Linked DNA regions of Homo sapiens: region 1 is linked to region 2. Evidence: promoter capture Hi-C in 16 types of primary human blood cells and fetal thymus (Javierre and others, 2016). All regions are on one chromosome and are shown on one strand. The core of a region is centred on a gene start or on the middle of the fragment in contact, and the rest is flanking DNA. Distances in the headings are between cores, read along the strand shown.

What was found. The method cuts DNA at HindIII sites, captures the fragments that hold promoters and counts their contacts. A CHiCAGO score of 5 or more calls a contact.
Region 1: a contact is called between a fragment that was not itself captured here and the fragment with the promoter of DLEU7 in region 2, in 1 of 17 cell types (neutrophils). The highest score is 5.9, in neutrophils.

Annotation. Positions count from the first base shown.
Region 1 is chr13:50,338,691-50,343,497 of GRCh38, forward strand. All of the region lies in intron 2 of DLEU1 (deleted in lymphocytic leukemia 1), which reads left to right. Among named protein-coding and RNA genes, the nearest start is that of DLEU1-AS1, 190 kb to the right of the region's middle. The HindIII fragment of the contact is 7,213 bases long and covers 1-4,807 here.
Region 2 is chr13:50,841,548-50,846,276 of GRCh38, forward strand. DLEU7 (deleted in lymphocytic leukemia 7) reads right to left here and starts at 2,145. Exons shown (of 2, transcript NM_001306135.2): 1 at 1,641-2,145. The coding sequence starts at 2,099. The region is part of intron 4 of DLEU7-AS1 (DLEU7 antisense RNA 1); the gene reads left to right. RefSeq lists an enhancer at 1,075-2,001. The HindIII fragment of the contact is 9,888 bases long and covers 1-4,729 here.

The sequences.
Region 1 (4,807 bases), core at 2,211-4,710, 500 kb before region 2:
CCAGCTTTGTGTGGCCTCCAGTGGACTTCATATGGACATAGCCGACCATGCCTTGCCTTGTCAGTCCCACATCCCTCACCTTCGGACCTGGGCTTCCCTGTTGATACAGAGGCACTGGATATCTTGAGACTTGCTCACCATGACGTATGTGCACCCAGAAATGCATGGAAGTTTACATCACCAGGGGCACATTTTTGGCCAACACGAGGTGGGGAGGTAGTGGGTAAAATGTTTTCCCTTCCTTCTCAGGACAGAATTGCCATGGCTCAAAAGGCCCCGTGAAATTTTGAGAAATCTGTTATGCTTGATACTAAGGATACCTTGGATATTTGCTCTTCCTTGCTCTCTTCCTTTCTCCCAACTTCTGTTTCCCTGGGGTTGTTTTACACCCACCAAAACAATAGCACCTAAACCTTTGCCTCAGGCTTTGTCTTTACAGAAACCCAGGCTAAAACAACAGGTAACAAAAACAGGTGGTTTTTGCTTGAATACTTCTAGAATTTTTTCTTTGTTTTTGGAATTTAGAAAATTTACTAAAACAAACTAGATATAAACTTCAAAACTGCTGCCTGGATCATTGTGAGAACTCTCTACATCCAGACTTGGATTAAAAAAAAAAAATCAGGATAGTTTTTTCTAGTATTTTATCTATTCGTACTGTTTTATTGTTTATTTTTAGAAATGCTTATTTTGGTTAAATCCTTACTCAAATATATATAGACATTTGAATAGTTCTGCTTTTACCATGGCTTCTCCTTTTGTTCACAGATTATGTGCTTTTGTATTTTATTAGCAACATGAAGAATGTGTTACAATTGTTTTCTTCTTTGTGCTTGCAATGTGTGTGCTTTAGAAGGCAATGAGTCCCTCAGAGTCCTCTGGCCTTTCTTCTCATCTCTGTGCTTGGGAATGTTTCCACATGCCCAGGTTTATTCTCCTTTACTTATCCATGTGAAGAGAGGTCTGTGAAGTCCCAATTTTTAAGAACAGATAAGACACAGGAATTGCTCAGTGGGGCACAGTCTGACTTTGGTAAGGTACAAAGGGTGCTGTCTGGGGCTCAAAAAAGGACTGAAAAGGACGCATGGAGGGTGCTGAGTTGGCAACCTGGAAGAGGGGGTGGTGCTGGAAGAAGTGGCTGCAGCTGTGGGACCTCATTTCATGGAAGCTGCTCTTGAGCCCCTGCGGCCCAGATACCTGGGAGAAACAGGGTCCTGGGAGAAAAGGCTTACTCTTATGCCTTCGATCAACAAACAACAGTTTCCTGGACCACGAGCAAACTGGACCAGCTGGGAGCAGGTAGAGACAGATGTATGGGTAGAGGGAAGTCAATATACCTGTAGTTTCCTGCAGAAACAGAACAGTCTTAGGGCAGTGCAGGATGGAAAGACACACTCCAGAGCCTGAGGCACCAAAGCGGAACAAGCATAGGGGCTGGCTGCCTGCCGTAGATCCGGGGGGATTATTTAATGTTGTATTGGAATCGAGAGTGCTGTAATTTCTAAGACTTTATGTTATTGCATGGACAGTTTTTCTCATTTTATGATATTTCCTTTGTTCATGTAGGTGATTTTGGTGGGGTGGTTTTTAGAATGTTCTCTTGTTTGTTAGCTAGAAGCCCAAGGGCATTTCTTTGTCCCCAAGGACAATGCTCCAATCCAAAGGATTTGCATTTAGGAATTTCAGGCACCAGTTGGCAAACAGGGGAATCTGTGAGCTCTCCTGCCCGAATTCAGGATGGACCTAAGACATTTTAGAATCCAGCCTTAGGTGAGACCACTAGGTGAGTTTCTGAGAAATGATCCCGGCAGCCGACCAACTCAGTCTCTGCAGCCTTGTAACACATTTGCTAGATTCAAGCACTCTAGTGAAACACAAATGCACATTATGTAGCAAACAGAATTGGGATAGGTTACGCAGAGCTAAGGCATTAAACATCCCCCTTCCCTCCCCGACTCCGCAACGATTCTAATAGCCAGGCACAAGCAGCGTCAGGATCTACGAGTAGCAGCTGCAGCGTTTAAAGAAACATCAGCTTCTGCACGTGCGTTCGTGGCGGGCCTGTCAGTGTGCTTTTCAGCCACACCTGCTTGCCCAGATGGTGGCCTCTGTGAGCGGCCTCAGCTCCTTGAGGAAGGACAGTCCCGGATTGTTTCACAGAGATTTACTGATGGGAAAATAACCACCCATCACCTCAGGGAACATTCTCACACATTTTCTTTATCATGCATTAAAAAAGTTACCAGTTTTTCTTTTTTTCCCCCGTAAGACACCAGAACTTCAAGTCTTTTGCAATAAGCCTGGAACACAAACCCATTCATTGGTTCCAAAGTGGATTTGCACAGTCTCCACGAAAACTGCCAGGGGCTAGGTGGGGCCCTGGTGACCCAGGCCAGGCCACTGAACCAGAGCTGGCTCTGGGATTTGAAATGACGTCCACTCCTTGTGCTCTTTGGGCTAAATCTAAAAGGGTAGCTCAGCTGCCTGTGTTTTTTGACTCTGGGAAACTCTTTTCCCTCATGGCTTTCCCAGCACAGCCTTACCTCTGTTCCTACACAGTCTCCTTCATGCGTTCTTTTCTGGGCCCTGAAATGTTCCTGTCTTCAGAGCCACGTCCTTGGCCCTCACCCTTTCCCCCTCAGCACTTTTCTGGGGTCATCCAGATTCCTGACTTCCATACCCATGCTACTGCCTCCCTTTGGGACATCTCCTGGGTCTCCTACAGCCATCTCAAACTTCTGTTGTCCTCTGTTTTCTGCCTCAGTTACTAATTTCCATGTCTCCCAAAAGTTGACCTCATGCCCCAGTCTCCTCCTGGGATTATGGGTCTTTCTTTGTTCTAGCCTTTTCTCCTCTCTCCTTGGTTTTTCACTGTTTGCAAAACTTTTCTGCCTTTTCATCTGGAAAAATCCTTGCTTAAAAACAGTCCTGCTCATAGGCTAAAACCTTTGTGGAACTTCACCCAACCCCTGCTTCCCATGCTGGAATTAATTGCTGCTTTTGTTGGTAAAATAAGCATGACCTAGAACCTGCCGGATGCCAAGGCACTAGGGACCCTCAGAGTCTGGTGTGGGGGATGGACCGTGGTTAGTTAGCATTTGAAGCAGTACAATAAAGATATGGCCTAAGAGCTGTGGGAATACAAAGGAGGGAGTCACTAATGCTCCATTTTAGAAATCCCCATGTAGGGGAAAATTAAATCAGAGAGATGGGAGCAGCATGTGTCCCTAGGTGACATCTATGGTCCACTCCAAGCAGCCGTGTTTCAAATGCAGATCTGCACCTGGCAAGGCTTTCTTTTTGTTTACCTCACCTAGCCACCAATCCTCCCTTACTTCCAAACACATCTATCATCTATTATTTCCATCGTGAGGTGCCACAGAGCAAAGACAGTATCATTTCTCCTTTTTCCTCTTTTGAGATCTCAGCATGAACTCATGGCTATAATATCCTTAACTCCTTCAACATGACATTATGATGTTAGCAAAAACTATGCCTGAAAAATAAAAACAATCTTAAGTGGCACCCACTCATAATGAACTTCTGGGTTCTGCACCCTTTACAGACCTTCTGATCAGAGATTGTCCCTCTGCCCTGGGGTCCTTGCATTTCTTTCCTGTGGGCTTTGTTGTTTACCACATGCTGTTCTGATCATGCTATCTTTCATTTAAATAGAAAGATAGCATGATGATGAAATGAAAATGATCCTAGGGTTGCTGTGAGTGTAGGATACACCAGTACCTGATGCTCACAGTTTGACAGGTCAGATCAAACTGTTATTCCAGAGCTGAGGGGAGAGACCAGGCCTCCTCTGGGAACTGGGACAGTGAGGAGAAACAAGCATCTGGTCACAGCCCCATCCCATGGACTCTGTCAGGGTTTAGGAGCTAACTTGCAGGGTGAACCTGTGGACAGTGAATTTTAGAGATAGAAGGGAGTTTGGCAATAGTCTAGTCTAACACTATTATTTTACAGATGGTGACATGGAAGCTCAGAGAGGTAAAGAGGTGTGTTTATGGTTCATGGAGGATTTGTGGCAGCCAGTGTGGAAGCCAGTGTGCCTGAGGCCCTCTCTGTTTAGTGGTGTCCATTCCACACTACACTGTCATCCCTGGAGCTCTGCTTGTTGTTGCTTGGAGCTATGAGCTTTGGTCATGAGTACAGCCCTATGGGGTAGATATATCCTAACTTATGGGTGAGGACACAGAGGTATAAAGAAAAAGAAGTTGCCTAAGATCACAGGGAATCCTTCTAAAACTGGACAGTCTCACCTACAAGATGGGAATAGAAATACCAATTGATGGAATTATAAGAAATTATGGGTATAAAATTTGTCAGGATATCATGAGCTATTAATTCATATGTTTTTTTCTTCACATTTCCTTTCAGCTTGTGACATTCTTTTATTTAGATAGCTAGATTAGAGGGAATCAGAGAGAATTAAGCCAGGGACAAAAGAAGTCACATTCTTCCTTCTTAGTTTTAAAAGTCTTTTTTTATGGCTGCATATTCCATATGGAATGTGCATATAACAGTATTCCATGGTGTATATGTGCCACATTTTCTTAATCCAGTGTATCATTGGTGGACATTTGGGTTGGTTCCAAGTCTTTGCTATTGTGAATAGTGCTGCAGTAAACATACGTGTGCATGTGTCTTTATAGTAGCATGATTTGTAATCCTTTGGGTATATGCCCAGTAATGGGATCGCTGGGTCAAATGATGTGTTCTCATTCATAGGTGAGAATTGAACAATGAGAACACTTGGACACAGGGTGGGAAACATCACACATGGGGGCCTGTCATG
Region 2 (4,729 bases), core at 895-3,394:
ACTTTTATTCACATTTTTTAAAAATCCCTGAAATCAGCCAGATGTGGTGGTACAGGTTTGTAGTTGCAGCTACTGAGGAGGCTGAGGCAGGAGGATCACTTGAGCCCAGGGCTCGAGGCTGTAGTGTTATGATCGCACCTGTGAATGGCTACCACACTGCAGCCTTGGCAACACAGGCAGACCTTGTCTCAAAAAAAAAAAAAAAAAAATCCCTTAAATTAGCATGTAACTTATAATCAATGGTGTATCATAGTTCAATGACAGGATTAAAAAAAATTTTGGTGATACCAAAAAAAAGTACATCTTACATTGGAGAGCATTTGGTGAAATGCAGCTTCATTTTCTAACTTTCTAAAGTGAGTGTAGGAGTGCTTCTCATCTTGCCTCCCACCCCACCGCCCCCGCCACCTTTGGCAGTGTCTGGAGACATTTTTGGCTGTATCAACTTGCGGCGAGGAATATGCTGCTGGCATCTAACAGGTAGAGGCGAGAGATGCTGCTAAACATCCTCTAATACACAGGACAACCCCCGACAACAAAGAATTAGCCAGGTCAAAATGTGAATAGTACAGAGATTGAGAAACCCCTACGTAGAGAAACAATACCTATTTGGGTATATAATAGGCTTTATTATGTTTGATTTTAAATAAATCTTTTACAGTGTATAGTGCAACTTAATGTATAGCAACTTTTTCCAAACCTTGGCTTGTACAGAATAGCAACTCTTGAGACATATTCTAAGCTCTCCTCATCACCCCTCCCCAACTCCTTCTGCTAGATGCCCCAGGGAAATAAAATACAGCAATGCTCCTGGTCAAAATCTGAAAGCCAGAATGTCTCAGAGAGATTCGTGACCTTAAACCAATTAGGTTAGTTAATGGCAAGTCCAGGACTGAAACCCAGACCCCCAGATTTCCGCAATCTCACTCAGCCTGGGAGACAGCTGCTCCCTTCCCGGGCTAAATTGGCTAACACAGTTTGGTACCTTAAGAGGAAATGTGCCCTACCTATATGAGCTGGGTGACTTAGCAAGAGTTTAGCATTTAGTATTCACGCTTTAACACCCGGGACCCACCCAGCTCTCACCCCACTTTATGAGAATGTAGGTTGACTCTGTAAGACCCCTTAGCTCTGTGGGGAATTGGATTTATGCAAAAAATAATAGTGATTCATGAATGTGAAGGAACTTTAAATAAATGTAGATGATTTCATCATACAAAAGGCAGAAGGGACTTAGTAAGTGTATTTAAGGCTCTGGAGGAAGCGTTATTAATTTGGAAAGTGGGTGGGGGGAGCTGTCCTCTATCCCTACAAGCTGCACGTGTGGAAAGGGCCTTTCTAGCGCAGGAAGCTGATTTATGTGAGAGAGGAAGGAGTTCCAGGGGGAGGTTTTGGCAAGGCAGTCCCCACATCTCGGTTGTGCCAGCCAGGCGGGCCTCAGGTGGGTCTGGGGCTCCCTGCCCCTCCTGCTGAGTCCCCAGAGTGTCCCCCGCCCCCTTCCTTCTCCCACTGGGGCTGAATCACAGTGGGCAGCAGTGTTTGGGATCCTGCGATCCACCCATCGCCATCCCAGCAGCCCCACCCTTGGAGGATGGGAGGTTACCCTGCACGCCAGAGGGGATGGCGGGGGCCAGACTCACCTTCAGGTGAATGGGAAAGGACCGCTCCTGCTGGAGGGGCCCCAGCAGCGTCTGCTCCACGCTGACCAGCTCCGAAGTCGAGTCCACCACGCGGGCCAGCGCGCTGCGCATCGCCATCTGGGCCAGGGTGCAGGGCCCGCGGTCCCGGGGGAAGGGCAGCAACTCGGCGCCCCCCTCAGCGCCTCGCACTACCTCCTCCTCTGGGGAGTTCGCCCGCGCCGCGGTCCGCCGACTCCTGGTCCCCACGCCCCCGCCCCGCTCCTCGCGCCCGGGCCCCGGCCGGGCCCGCGGCGGGCCTGAGCGACGGGCTGGAGCGGTGGACACGTGGTCTGGGTCCCGCGGGTTCCCGGGGGCGACTGGACCGTCCCCCCAGCCCCACTCCTGCTGCAGCAGCTGCAAGGTCTGCAGAGCCACCATTTGGTGGCTGATGGAGGCCACTAAGGGCGCAGGGCTGGCCATCGCCTCCGCTGGCGGCCCGGCGCGCTCCGCGTGCAGGTGGAGCAGCAGCGAGGGAGGCGGGGGCGTTGGGGTCGCCAAGGTCACATTTTCTAACCCGCGGCTCCTCGGCCTCTGGGTCTCACAGCGTGTGTGGTCGGCCCCGCCCCCGGCTCTGAATCGGTGACCCGTGCTGGCCTCTGCCTTCGCCTGAAGTCCGAATCAGGCGTGTTCTGACCCAAAGCTGCCTGAAGCGCTGCTCGGTGTGCACTTGAAAATCAGCGAAATGCTGAGCGTTGCTTCTTCCCTCTCTCCAGGGCTTTGATGAGAAAACGTGCTGCTTTGTGCGGGCGCATCCATCGGCGGGGATACCCCGCCCCCACCTCCTTCGAAGGATGCCTGCCAATGACCACTGAGGTCTGGGAGGTGGGGGTGCAAAAGACCCACTCTAGGGCAAAAGTACGAAGGGCTCTAGAAAAACTTGCAAAAGGAAGACTGTGCCTTTCCCAACCCGAGGGGAATTTTCAGAAACTTGTTGAAGCAGCCTTCAAGGCCTTGCATCCCCCAAACAAAAGAAGGAGGAGTTGTGTATCTGGAAGTTCTGCTCTTCTCTGCTTTGCTGGGTGCCACTTGAGCACCGAGAGCCTGGTGGCTGAACTAGCATCAGCAAGCCTCAAGGCCCAGGCCTGGCACTGCCCAGAAAAGCCTAAATGTTTTTTTGTGACACTCCCAAAAGACTTAGGCAGCAAGGTTGAAGTTAATCCTTTTATGAGCCATGAACTTAGGGACAGCTGTACAAATAGTTGCTGTTTTTAATTAAACCCAACATGGCTACTTCCTTAACTTAGAAAAAAGCGACTAGCAATGTTATGCTTTGATAGATTGGAAACCATGGGTGTGTGATCACACTTAAGAAAATAGAAGATATTTGAGAGGAGTGGTATGGAAAACCAGTCCGGAGCAGCATTGTTCCTGCTTGCTTTCTGCAAGGAAAACCACTAGACAACCCAACAGCCCAGTAAAGCCAGGGCAATGGTGCATGCCCACGACAGACAGGTGGGCCCTGGCAGACCTGAGGATGGAATTGCATTACTCCTTTGGGAGCCAGACTGCACCCTTGGTGCTGTGCAGATCTGGAGAGGCTTTTGAGTGAAAAGGCCACACTGGTTAGTCTGTGAGCACAAAAGGATCATCAGAAGAGATATGGAGAGGGATGTTGGGTCCTTTAAGGTTTCCTTAACCCTGGGATAGTATGACCCCATATAATCCTCCCAACTTGCCAGCAAAGGTTCCTTCTCCTTCCCAGTGCTTTCTTCGCCTATGAAAACGAATCTGAATGCCAAGGTAAAGAAAACCTTTCTTAAACAAAAACGAGTATGTTCACACTAATTATAACTAAGTAAAAATGCACGTCTGTGCATTGACAGAGAGGAAATTACTTTGGAGGGAAGTAAATAGTTTAATGTTGATTAGATTTTTTTGCCATGAAGTTACTTAAGTTCATAATAAAAAATAGAAAGAAAAAAATTTTCTTTTTAAAAAAAGTCTTCAAATGTTGAAATATATTAGGTTCAGCAGAGACTAACCAGCAATAGCAAAAATGAACCCCTAATTTTCACAGAGCATGTCAGATCTCTAGGGCTGCCTCTCTTTCCAGATACACAGGAAATTCAGTTTCATGGGCTAACCCTTCCACTATCAAATGGCTGACTGCAAAACTTTCTTGACAGTTGGAATTGCAGCCAAGAGCAGAATTGAAATCACTAGACACAGGCTGACCTGAGGCCCCACTCTTCTACATACCACACTGAGTCAGAGCCATGAGACCAACTGAACCTCAGGGGGCATGACAGAAGGGTGCCAGAAAACCTTGGGGCCTGAGGGATGGCACATGCTGCTTAAATTGCTGCCTGCTTTTTCTAGTATTCTTAGGAAGCCCTGGATCATCTGGCAACTGAGTGTTTTGTCTGTTTTGGCTGTGGGTCGCACTGTGTTTTGCTATGATCTCAAAATGGCTTGTGTTCCAAAGCTAGAGATATGAGAGCCTAACTCAGGAAAAATTTTCATAGTCTATTTAGATGAGTCAATAGCATAGCAGATCTACCTTTGGTCTAAAACACCTCCGTAGTTACGTTTGCTGGGCTACCAGACGAAGTAACAGATAGCCTACTTCTTACCCACTGTACTCACGATTTGAGGCCATTCTGTAATAAAGGGCACATTCAAAAGGACAAAGTATTAGATATCTGATATGTTTGTTTCACAACATATATTTCACTATTTTATAGAAATCATACCCTCATTTCTCAGTAGATATGCCTTTTCCTCCACACTCTGCCCGTGAAGTCAGATGGGATGAGCCCATCTCACTGCAGAAGAGTACTGGATCATCTAGCCTAAGTCCCATCACACATCACATCCCCACAGTGCATGCATGGTCAGGAATGGGCACATGACCCAGCTAGAGCCAATGAGACAGTATCTTTTAGGATGCTTTCAGCTGAATGCACTGTAAAAGAGAAAACAACAGATGCAAAGAGTACAGGCCAAAAAAGAAGTGTAGGCCAAGAGATGAAACAGCAAAAGATCAAATTCCCTTTAAACCAGAAAACTCAACATAACATAGTTTAATCAATAAGAATAATTTATTGTCT